Linked DNA regions of Homo sapiens: regions 2 and 3 are each linked to region 1. The links are contacts of gene promoters, found by promoter capture Hi-C in human tissues and cell types (Jung and others, 2019). All regions are on one chromosome and are shown on one strand. The core of a region is centred on a gene start or on the middle of the fragment in contact, and the rest is flanking DNA. Distances in the headings are between cores, read along the strand shown. Region 1 holds the start of ABRA (actin binding Rho activating protein). Region 2 overlaps RSPO2 (R-spondin 2). Region 3 overlaps RSPO2 (R-spondin 2).

Evidence for each region. Contacts are between HindIII fragments. The study calls those that stand out against the background at their distance.
Region 2: a fragment that was not itself captured here is called in contact with the fragment with the promoter of ABRA in region 1 in 1 of the 25 tissues and cell types used here (dorsolateral prefrontal cortex).
Region 3: a fragment that was not itself captured here is called in contact with the fragment with the promoter of ABRA in region 1 in 1 of the 25 tissues and cell types used here (mesenchymal stem cells).

The regions. Positions count from the first base shown.
Region 1 is chr8:106,767,854-106,772,043 of GRCh38, forward strand. ABRA (actin binding Rho activating protein) reads right to left here and starts at 2,391. Exons shown (of 2, transcript NM_139166.5): 1 at 1,670-2,391. The coding sequence starts at 2,337. The HindIII fragment of the contact is 12,258 bases long and covers 1-4,190 here.
Region 2 is chr8:107,925,821-107,930,010 of GRCh38, forward strand. The region is part of intron 5 of RSPO2 (R-spondin 2); the gene reads right to left. Among named protein-coding and RNA genes, the nearest start is that of RSPO2, 160 kb to the right of the region's middle. The HindIII fragment of the contact is 3,185 bases long and covers 517-3,701 here.
Region 3 is chr8:107,897,816-107,902,005 of GRCh38, forward strand. It overlaps RSPO2 (R-spondin 2), which reads right to left. Exons shown (of 6, transcript NM_178565.5): 6 at 1,501-3,375. The coding sequence ends at 3,260. Among named protein-coding and RNA genes, the nearest start is that of RSPO2, 180 kb to the right of the region's middle. The HindIII fragment of the contact is 7,092 bases long and covers 1-4,190 here.

The sequences.
Region 1 (4,190 bases), core at 1,141-3,640:
GGAGGCCGAGGTGGGTGGATCACCTGAGGTCAGGAGTTCGAGACCAGCCTGGCTAACATGGTGAAACCCCATCTCTACTAAAAATACAAAAATTAGCTGGGCGTGGTGGTGTGCACCTGTAATCCCAGCTATTCAGGAGGCTGAGGCAGGAGAATCACTTGAACTCAGGAGATGGAGGTTGCAGTGAGCCGAGGTCGTGCCACTGTACTCCAGCCTGGGCAACAGAGTGAGACTTCATCTCAAAAAAAAAAAAAAAGGAACAGCTTTTTGTCAAATTAGGTAACAATTTTTTTCTTTATTTTCTTATTGTTTCATAAGACTTGAAAAACACACTTGCACATCAAACTGTCCCCAAAGGGAGTCAGTCTATAAATGTAATGACATCAGACATTTTTCTTATATTTTGATACCCTGGCATTGTGGAATAAGAAATCCTGACTTTCTACCATGTGGAGTTACTGTCTTGAAATAAAGCACGTGTTTCTTGTCTATATACATGTTTCAGTTTGAGTAAATGTGTATGTGAGTGTATGTATGTGTATTTACCATCTAGATATTTTAATTATTGCTGTATTTGTTTACAAATAGGACAAACTGTTTTTGAAAATTTGAAAAGTTGCAAAGTAACCAAATCTATGTGAATAATAATAGTTTTCGTGTATTGAGCATATGTGACAAGCTCTGTGTTTGGTAGCCCTAATCTCATTTACGTTTCCCAATACAATAGAACTTCTCCCAAAAGCTTACTGTTGCTGTCATTTTACAAATGAGGAAATCTGCTTTTTTTAATTTTTATGTGAAACAGAGTCTTGCTGTGTTGCCCAGGCTGGAGTACAGTGGCATGATCTTGGCTCACTCCGACATCAGCCTCATGGGTTAAAGCCATTCTCATGCCTCAGCCTCCCGGGTAGCTGGGATTACAGATGCACAACACTGTGCCTAGCTATTTTTGTGTGTTTTTTGGTAGATATGGGGTTTCACCAATGTTGGTCAGGCTGGTCTCAAACTCCTGGCCTCAAGTGATCCGCCCTCCTCAGCCTCCCAAAGTGCTGAGATTACAGGCTGAGCCACTGCGCCCAGCTGATGAAATCACCTTTAAAAATGACTAGTTAGGGGCAGAACTAGGATTTGAACTTGGGTCTGTCTGACTTCATTCAGAGCCTGCTTTCAAATTAGACAGCAGCCTCCACCTGTTTAGAGTCAGAGATTTGTATTCCATGGGTGTTATTGAAGCAGACGTATCTCCTGATAATAGCATAGACATTTGGGACAAGGTAAAAGTTTCCCCAATGAGTCTATCAGAAACCACTCTTATCTCTAAAGAAATAAGCCAATTTGTTACTCATTATAGAACTGACTTAAAGAATTCACGAAAAACAGGCTTCCCTCTCTGATGGCTTCATCTTTGTTGAGGCTAAGACTTGAGTGTTCAGTTCAAAACAAAAACGAGAAACAAAATAGCGCAGGCCCTGACCAAAAGGTCCATGTCTAAGGTTGGCACTGACCTTCAGCCCAGGGACATCCCTCCTCTACAGTACTCACTGCCTGTCCAGTCTTTGAGATTCTCACTCTAACCCTGGCAGGACTTCATCTGCTGCCTGGATTCCCAGACTTGGTTGGGGCTCAATAGTGATCCTGACACAAGGAGTGGGAGAATGCATTCACTTACTGGGAGGGCAAGGGGCGCTTGATCCTGACCACAGCCACCTGCACTCCATCCTGCTCGGGCCTCTCCTCAGCCTCTCCTCCATAGCCGCTGTCCTCTGTGTCTACGCTGTCACTCCTCCATGTGGGCTCCTCCTGCTCCATCACTCTCCAGCCCTTGGTTAGCTCAGACACCAGGTTGGCACATTTTCTCCTCCGCGTTGGGGAGCCGTGGCTGTGGAGGATTCTGTCAATGTCATTCTCTGGCTGCCCAGGTTCAAGCACACCAGCATCCCTCTCGTACCTGTGGCTGAGGTGGCTCACGTCCCCTCCTCTCTCATAAGTCTTGCTGACCACCGTTTTGGACACCTCTTTCTTTTTGATGTGAGAAACCTCAGGGGCTTTCTCTGAGCTTTGTCCATCTCCATGTCCTTCTGGCAGGCGGGGTGGCGACTTTGGGGCACTCTGAGCTTTCTGGTGTGAAGTAGGGGGTGTGATTGGTTTAGGAGCTTGAGGTGAGTCCTGGGTCCCTCCCGGCAGCCAGCCTGTAGGCTCCTGGGCCTGCCTGATGCTGTTCTCATTCGCCCACTGCTGCCAACCTCGGGCCAAGCTGATGACCAGGGTGGCTGTGCGTATCTTCCGGAGGGCGCTCTTGGCTGGGCCCTCCCCGCTTTCCTTTTCGCCCGGAGCCATGCTGCCCACCTGTCTTTCTCTGCTGATAGCCTGGACACTGGCTAAAATGAGTGTGGTCCAGTGGAGTGCCTGGGATTTAAATAGAAGCAGGGTGCGGGGTGGGAAGGAGAGCTTAGTGACGATGGAAACTATGTGAAGCATTTCTTGCCAAGATGTGGCGCCTTTGCCCTGATGGTGTTCTTTTTATAAATCATGACAGCTCCAGTTTCATCACGGCAGAGGGACATCTCTGCTGGTAAGGAACAGTGATATGCTCACTCTCTTCTCCAAGTGCCAGAGTGGAAATTACTAGATCAAGTCATGTGCTCAGCCTTACGTTTGTCTGACCTTAATATGGTCCTACCATTTATAGGTGCATACATATTATCCTGGGAACATTATAGGATTGTTCCCACTTAAACCCCAGCAGCCCTCAGTACAGCTCCTAATTAGTTCCACTTTATAGCTAAGTAAAATAAAATCTAACTTCCAGCAGCTAATAAAATATGAGATTCAAATCCATCTCTGTGTAATTCAAAGCGTGTGCCTCCTTTTATTCCAGTTATCAAAGATCCTAAGTTGCCTTTTTCTTTTTCATTCAACTCCATTAGAAATAGACCTTAGAAAATCAACTCATCCAATCTTCATTTTCCAAATGAGAAAATTGAAGCCCAGATACGAGAAAGACCAAAGTCCAGATAGTCAAAGACTAATTACTTTCTAGTCCCAACTTTGAACTATTGTATAGATAACTCATATTAAAATACAAAAAGGGAGTCAAAATTTTGGTCCAATCATTAAAAAATGTTTTTAAAACCTGTATACACATTGGATTTTAGAAATTATTATTGGAGGCCGGGCGAGGTGGCTCACGCCTGTAATCCCAGCACTTTGGGAGGCCGAGGCGGGCAGATCACGAGGTCAGGAGATCGAGACCATCCTGGCTAACATGGTGAAACCCCGTCTCTACTAAAAATACAAAAAATTAGCCGGGCGTAGTGGCGGGCGCCTGTAGTCCCAGCTACTCGGGAGGCTGAGGCAGAAGAATCCTGTGAACCCGGGAGGCGGAGCTTGCAGTGAGCGGAGATCGAGCCACTGCACTCCAGCCTGGGTGACGAGCGAGACTCCGTCTCAAAAAAAAGAAAGAAAGAAAGAAAGAAATTATTGTTGGAATACATATTTTGAAATACTTTGTTTGAAAAGATCATCTAAGGACAGAATTCTAAGGACAGAATAAATGAAAGCTATCGGTAGCTCACTTCTTATCCCCATCCCGCCTACCCTTACCGTTTGGTTTGTGGTTGTTGTTTTGTTTTGTTTTTTGAGATAAGGTCTTGCTGTGTCCCCAGGCTGGAGTGCAGTGGTGTGATGATGGCTCACTGCAGCCTTGACCTCCTGTGCTCAATCAGTCCTCCTGCCTCAGTCTCCCAAGCAGCTGGGAATACAAGCATGAGCCACCATGCCTAGCTAATTGTTTTTGTTTTTGTTTTATATAGACGGAGTCTCGCTATGTTGCCCAGGCTGGTCTCAAACTCCTGAGCTTGTGCAGTCTTCCCACCTTGGCCTCCCAAAGTGCTGGGATGACAGATGTGAGCCCCCACGTCTGGCCCCTTTTGTTTTTAGTAACACAATCTTCCTTAGCAGGACTTTATGTTCATGTAGGCAAAGACAGTTTTTCAACTCTCACAAGAGGGACTGAAATATAATATTTTTTTAAAAGGACTGGAAAGACAAGCATGTGGACAGAAAGAGAAACATCTATGCAGTGTATTAAACCAGATAAAAATGTCCAGGGCTCAGCAATGAATAATTTCTTAAAGTAAGACGGAATTTTTTTTCATTCAACAGGTCTGTTGGCTTTAAAACTATATCCT
Region 2 (4,190 bases), core at 859-3,358, 1.2 Mb after region 1:
TGGTTCCAAGTCCTTGCTATTGTGAGTAGTGCCACAATAAACATATGTGTGCATGTGTCTTTATAGCAGCATGATTTATATTCCTTTGGGTATATACCTAGTAATGAGATGGCTGGGTCAAATAGTATTTCTAGTTCTAGATCCCTGAGGAATCACCACACTGTCTTCCACAATGGTTGAACTAGTTTACAGTCCCACCAACAATGTAAAAGTGTTCCTATTTCTCCACATCCTCTCCAGCACCTGTTGTTTCCTGACTTTTTAATGACTGCCATTCTAAATGGTGTGAGATGGTATCTCATTGTGGTTTTGATTTGCATTTCTCTGATGGCCAGTGATGGTGAGCATTTTTTCATGTGTTTTTTGGCTGCATAAATGTCTTCTTTTGAGAAGTGTCTGTTCATATCATTCACCCACTTCTTGATGGGGTTGTTTTTTTCTTGTAAATTTGTTTGAGTTCTTTGTAGATTCTGGATATTAGCCCTTTGTCATATGAGTAGATTGCAAAAATTTTCTCCTATTCTGTAGGTTGCCTGTTCACTCTGATGGTAGTTTCTTTTGCTGTGCAGAAGCTCTTTAGTTTAATTAGATCCCATTTGTCAATTTTGGCTTTTGTTGCCATTGCTTTCGGTGTTTTAGACATGAAGTCCTTGCCCATGCCTATGTCCAGAATAGTATTGCCTAGGTTTTCTTCTAGGGTTTTTATGGTTTTAGGTCTAACGTTTAAGTCTTTAATCCATCTTAACTTTTATATAAGGTGTAAGAAGGGATCCAGTTTCAGCTTTCTATATATGGCTAGCCAGTTTTCCCATCACCATTTATTAAATAGGGAATCCTTTCCCCATTGCTTGTTTTTCTCAGGTTTGTCAAAGATCAGTTAGTTGTAGATACGTGGTATTAGTTCTGAGGGCTCTGTTCTGTTCCATTGGTCAATATCTCTATTTTGGTACCAGTACCATGCTGTTTTGGTTACTGTAGCCTTGTAGTATAGTTTGAAGTCAGGTAGCATGATGCCTCCAGCTTTGTTCTTTTGGCTTAGGATTGACTTAGCAATGCGAGCTCTTTTTTGGTTCCATATGAACTTTAAAGTAGTTTTTTCCAATTCTGTGAAGAAAGTCATTGGTAGCTTGATGGGGATGGCATTGAATCTATAAATTACCTTGGGCAGTATGGCCATTTTCACGATATTGATTCTTCCTATCCATGAGCATGGAATGTTCTTCCATTTGTTTGTGTCCTCTTTTATTTCATTGAGCAGTGGTTTATAGTTCTCCTTGAAGAGGTCCTTCACATCCCTTGTAAGTTGGATTCCTAGGTATTTTATTCTCTTTGAAGCAATTGTGAATGGGAGTTCACTCATGATTTTGCTCTGTGTTTGTCTGTTATTGGTGTATAAGAATGCTTGTGATTTTTGTACATTGATTTTGTATCCTGAGACTTTGCTGAAGTTGCTTATCAGCTTCAGGAGATTTTGGGCTGAGAAGATGGGGTTTTCTAGATATACAATCATGTCATCTGCAAACAGGGACAATTTGACTTCCTCTTTTCCTAATTGAATACCCTTTATTTCTTTCTCCTGCCTGATTGCCCTGGCCAGAACTTCCAACACTATGTTGGATAGGAGTGGTGAGAGAGGGCATCCCTGTCTTGTGCCAGTTTTCAAAGGGAATGCTTCCAGTTTTTGCCCATTCAGTATGATATTGGCTGTGGGTTTGTCATAAATAGCTCTTATTATTTTGAGATACGTCCCATCAATACCTAATTTATTGAGAGTTTTTAGCATGAAGGGCTACTGAATTTTGTCAAAGGCCTTTTCTGCATCTATTGAGATAATCATGTGGTTTTTGTCTTTGGTTCCGTTTATATGCTGGATTACATTTATTGGTTTGCATATGTTGAACCAGCCTTGCATCCCAGGGATGAATCCCACTTGATCATGGTGGATAAGCTTTTTGATGTACTGCTGGATTCGGTTTTCCAGTATTTTATTGAGGATTTTTGTATCGATGTTCATCAGAGGCCAGTGATCATTAATCCTATGTTCAAATACTCTGTATTACAGATGTGCAACTAAGGTTTATATAATGGAGAGCAACTCACATGTCCAATTCTGTTTTGTTTACACCAATGGTAACTAGCAAATTCTAAAATTCCTAACTAATCAGAAATATTAAATATAGACCAAAAAAATCACTGTGCAGGTAAAGACCTAGAGGGCTCATCTGCTCTATATATATGCCTTAAAATATGTATACCTGCATTTATCCTGGAAAAAGTATTTTAGAGACCCATGAGAATACTTAAGTATTCTTAATAACCTTAAGTGCTAAGGATCTCTTGATTATTTGAACTCTGAACCCCCTTCTGTCGTTACTTCAGTAGTTTCTGAGAGAGAAAAATAGCCACCAGGTTCCATATAATCTCTACATTCCTTAAACCTTATTAGATCATCCTTTACCCTTTTAAAAAATACATAGTTAACAGATGTACTGCTTAGCTGACAAAGTTTGAATAATTAGCTTTTTATATAAACACATACTGCCTATTCTTCTTTTGAAATGTCATTTTTATTTTAAACAAAAGACTAAAAATTTAATCTTGCCAAAGTATTCCAGATTACACTGTAAAGACTTCTCCAACACTGTGCTTCTAAGCCTAACCTTTTGATTCCCTTTAGTAAAGGCACTTAGATTACATAAAAGTAACAGAACTAGGAGAAATGCCATTCCAAATTTTGATGTATGGAATGTTTAAAAGTGGTGAGTTCCTAAAGTGGATGCTTTCCAACAATCATCTTAATTCAGGAGAGCAATATAACAGACAAGTTTAGAACATGCTCTTTGGAGACTGAGCCTTGGTTTCAGCCTCAGCTCTGCCACTGTAACTTATCCAAAGCTTCATAGCGGGTATCTTCTCTAGGGCTTCAGTTTCTCATCTGTGAAGTGTGAGAAATAGTAGTTCCTATGAGATAAAGTTGGCGTTATGATTAAATAAGGAAATTAAGTAAAAGTTTAGTCCGGTTCATGGCGTATTGTGAGCATCAGTACATGTTAGTGGTGGTGGTGATGGTAGTTGGTGGTGATAATAACAATGACAGTGACAGAGAATGTCAATGAGACCAGAAGATCAAGAATAGATTTTCTTAGCCTTCCTTAAACCAACCATATAAATCAATCTAACTCAGAGCCAAATCACAAGAAAGGCTGGACCGCATGCCCTGACACTGTTGCAAGGCCAATGCCACGGCTGCTGCCACAGCTCAGTCACACCATGGACTGTGAGTTGTCTGACTGGTAGTAGACGTCTCTCTTCCTACCTCTGATGGATGGTAATGGCTGCTTTGGATGGGATCCATTTTACATCCTCTGACTTAAACAGCTTTGCAAAAGTAATTTTTCATTGTTTTGAGAGGATAAGTAACACTACAGAAGTACTCATGTCCAACGAAGTGAGGATCATACAACAAAAGGAAAACACCCAAAGGAAAACAAATGTGTAGAGGAGATAAATTCACTTCAGGATGGATGTTTACCAAAAAGAAATTACATCCACAATTCTCGCAGTTGGGGACCAATGGCAAGTTACATGCCCCCTGTTTAGCAGCTGAAAGCCAGCCAGATCCTGTGGCTTGGCTCTCTCACAAGCTTTAAATACACGAACTCGCATAACAGCACCCAAGCAAGCAAATAATATGCACACTGCTCTTGGCTAAGAAGAGAGAGAGAGGGAGGACAGAGAACTTTTTCAATAACTACAAGCTTGGAGAGCTTATACAGATAAATGGGTTCAGTTTCTGCTGAGGAAGAAAACATTCAATTAAGACTTCAAAATTGCTGAAGGATACTTTAAAACACAGTGTCAGTGTCTGTCTCTCACCTTAGAACTATCTAGTATATATTATAGGAAACTTAGAACAGTTAGAGATTTTAGTTTTTCAGTAACTGCTTTTCTTCTATTTCTTCCACCTATCCAAATAGGTTTTCTACCATGAAGAAAAATGCAAAGCAATTCCGTCTGTATTTATTAACTCTAATTTTTAAAGAAGTAACAGTATAAGGCACAATGTCTGCCAGACTGGATTACCTCACCCCAATTCAGTTCTAGTATTCATAGAAAAAAATCTATGCATCTATTTGCCTACTTAGTTTAAGATTTTCAGGTGATTCTGATGTTCTCCTTGGTTTAAGAAC
Region 3 (4,190 bases), core at 734-3,233, 1.1 Mb after region 1:
TAGAAATACAAAGGAATAATTGGAGTGAGTGAAGGTGGGGGCAAGAATGATGTCTAGGAAGAGTGGAACAGTCCAGAAAAAGAGACAAAGAGGACCAGCCTTGGGCAAAGAAAGTAAAGGGGTACGGAGAAAATCAAGAGATATTTCCAAGGTAAACTCATTAGTAACTGACTAGATGTAGGGAACAAAGGAAGTAAATGACGAATACAAGAGCCTTTAATCAACTAGGTAAATAATTAACTGTCCAATAGGAAAAGCAGGAAGGGGAACAGTTGAAGGCAGTTATCAGTGATTATGCCGATCATTTGGTTGCTCTTAGATCTACCCGCTGCCCTTCCCTCAGGCTCTTCTGAACCACAGAAAACTGTGTTACCCAGACTCCCTTGCCTACTGGCTTCTGGGCAGCTTTGGGCAATAGCGGGCACTGGTGGAAGACTGGAGGTTGGGAGATAGGGAGAAGCCAGGCTATTTCCTCCTCTATGAATTTGCCTCAAGCAGCATTTCTCACAGCAACAAGATCATCTACAATATTTCAGCTCCTACCAAACAAGCTTTCTGTCCTCAGTTCCAGCTCCTTCTGTGGTTATAGCTCTAGCCTCAGCTATGGTTCTAAGTCTAGCTGGGCACCTGTGGCTTCTAGATTTTGGAAACTCCACCTCTTCTTGTAATTCCTCTTGCATTAGGGGTAAAATAGTGCCTCCTGCTGTTGCTAATCTCTGGGTCATCTTGGCAACATATTTTGGCTTCGTGTCTCCTTTATCACCTGTATAACCAATTTCTGGTGTTAAATTCCCCATTTGAAACACCCCGACTAGTTTATTTCCTTGATTGCACCCGTACTGATTGATAGAGGAAAGAATTCAGTTTTGTGTGTATCTGTGTGTGTATGCTGCTTATATCAGGGAGAGTCAGAAATCAAGCAGATGTAAATGTTTTAGCAAATAATGCCCAGGCACCAAGCAATAGATTAGATTGATACTTTTCATAAATGTTCTATTTTGTTAATAAGGAGAAATCAATATTTTTTAAAAGAATCTAAATAGCCATTGAAAGATGTAATAGGTGACCAACTTGTATAGTACTTAGTATATAGAATGCCGTGGTGACCATACTTTACACATTTTACCTAATTATATCCTTAAAGTACAACCCTGTATATATTTCCCTGTATATATTTTCATTTGGTCCTTAAAACACAGCCCCTAGAGGCAGATGATAATGTGATCCCCATTTCACAGATAAGGAAACTGAGAGTGGAGGGATTAAGTAATTTTCACAGGCCACTCTCAGTCTGGATTAGAACTCGGGCACTTGGACTCTAGTTTACAGTTATCTAGTTTATCTATAAACTAGTTAGTTAGTGTTCTAGATGTAGTTACCAATATAGGTTTTTAAAGATTTGCCTGTCTTTTTTAAAGGGCTGTTATTTTGGGGGTAGAACAAAGTACTGAGTTATTTCTAAATGTATCTCTAAAGTAAAAAAGAAATCTCCACAAAAAATAATTTTGAAGTTTTTAATGCACAAAAAAGAACATCCCAGGAACAACAGGTATTGACTTATTAACGATGAAGCACTATATAAGGAGACCCCCTCCCCACTTAGTAAATGGGAAAATAGTGTAAATAGACATGAAAGGAGGTAACACTTCAGGATTAAATGTAAACCCTAAAGTTGTATACAACATTCATATGTGGCTTATTATCTCATAGCAATATTTTCATAACGATGTATATGATATTTATCCTTATTGGTAAGATGCTTTTGAATCAAAAGTTAAAAACACTGAAGAGGTAGTTTTGCCAATGCAAGGTGAAAAAAAAAAGGCTTTACCTTGCTTTGTTTCAAAATCCACAACCATTATTTTTCTGTTCTAATTTTCTCCTGGATCAGCCAGGAAGATAATCATGCTTTGTGAAAAAGCCAATTCACAACCTTCTAAAAACTGGTTCCCCTAAAAGGACAATGATGTGTTTGAAACAACTGCTCTGAAAGTCACCTGGGAAGTTTCCATAGTGTTCCTCTCCATCTTGGATCTGAAACAGATTCTGGCTCAACAGAAACCTGTTAAGATCTGACTGGCAGTCACAGAAATTCATCCTTTTATCTCCTAAAATTCTATGCCCAGGCTCATGGTAGTAGCTTCTTCAGTGACCCAAGAACATTGGTAGGTGCCTTGTCATTTAAAGCCAGGGATTGCTTTAAATTTGGGGGAAAAAAATTGCAGTCAGAAATAATGTTTGTTTGGACAATTCTGTAGCTGGCCTGTGAAACTGGCTACAAGTGACTGGATATAGTCCCTCATGTTTTCAGTTGTGTTTCATCAAAGTCATCACATCTTAGACTCAAAGGCAGTTTGGGCTTCTGATTGCCAGATGCCGCCTGCTGCTTTATCTATATGTGTGGGACATGTGGAGTGGAGAAGGTCTACCCAATATGCAAACTCTTTGACACTGGTCATTTGACTCTATATACAAAAACTAGTTTATCCTACCCTTACAATGAGAAATAAGCCCACAATGAGGGGAAAAAAAAAAAGTTTCAAGAGGCAACAAAACAAGTGTCAATTCCCCAAACTAGAAAAGTCATTTATCAGACAATGGGTTAGGAACCACTAGAAACAAAGTGGCATCATATTAATCAGGTATGACTTGTTACCCACAAGAAAGCATAAATATACAGTAAATAAGAGCTTTATATGTAGCTCCTGCAGTATATGTACATATTAGGGCTGCAGTGAAACTGAGCAGGAATTTCCAGAGCATATCCTCAGCTAAAAGCAGTTTCATCGCACAACAGTGTGAAGGTAACATGCTGAGAATACCATGTGGTAACACTAAGCAGATATCCACACAAACATATCCTTGAAAATGCACAATGTGAGAAATAAAGGTCACGAGTGAGTAGCGCATTGCCTGCCAAGCATCTTCTTTCACATAAATAGGCACAAGTCCGTCCTCCAGCGGTGTTCTGCAGCCTCACACCTCTAGCATGTCCATGGTGCCGGGGACGGATTCTCTCAGCACACACTGAGCCAAGTCACGGGCTGTGCACTTACTCCTGCCTTCACAGTCTCCAGATTCAAATCAAAGCATAAATAACACAGGGGCCATGCTGGTGGTGCTTCCTTTCACCATGTTACTGGGAACAGATACTGGGCAGAGCAGCACAAAGGCTGCACACCAGTGTGCAGGAGTGGAGAGTAGCTTTGTGCACATTTGCAAAAACAAAAACCCCTAAAAATCTACCGGATCTCTTGTTTTATTGGTTAGCTCTGTCTGTAGCTAGGAAGACGCTGTGTTGCTCCTGGGCCCTTTCTATCAGCTTCCTTTTCTTTTTCTTGTTCCTCTTCTCCTTCGCCTTTGGTGTTCTCTTCCCTGCAATGAAGGAAAGAAAAGAAGAGATGTCAGAAATGGCTCTTTCTCTAGGAAAGAAAACACAAAAATATTGGGAGTTTTGCACAAAGCCCATCTGGAAAACATCACCTATGGAAAAAGCCTCAAAGAGAAAATTGTTCACATTAATTTTGACAGAATAATAATAATTTACTAAATTAGATATGCTGTCTAAAACAGAGACTGATTTTCCTGTTACAGGGAACTGGCATATTGAAAAACCTCCCAGTGGCCTGATCCGTCTTTCAAATATCATCCTGCCACAAAAATTCCATTTATTCCCTCCTACTTCTAACAATGCTACCCTTTTCTACACATCTTTACATCTTACTACTGCTCCACGTGTCAGTGGGTCAAAAGAAAATAAGCATCTATCTATAGCAAACATACCAGAAGTTTCAAACTCCTCTCTCCCTTTCCCCATGGGGGAAAAAGAGTCTTGCTTTTAACATTATTTCCTCCATATTCCAAATACCAATGTATAAAATGACATATGTGCAATCCTTTATTTTCTATAAAAATTCATGGAGACATCATTCATTATATACCTTATGGCTTCTTATCCAAATCCCCTGGACAAGTTGTTGTTATTAATGGAGAGCAAGAAGAATGCTTATTTGTTTTGATAAACTGGTGGTATGTGTCTAACTACCAGACGATCATACCAAGTATTTCTCTTCTTTGCCTTAGCCACTAGGAAGCCCAGGCTACAAGCTAACTAGTTGAGGTTTTCCTCCAGCAGGAATTTTTTAAATGCTGTTTTTTTCTTTGCCTCTGCTATATTTTACTTCCTCCAT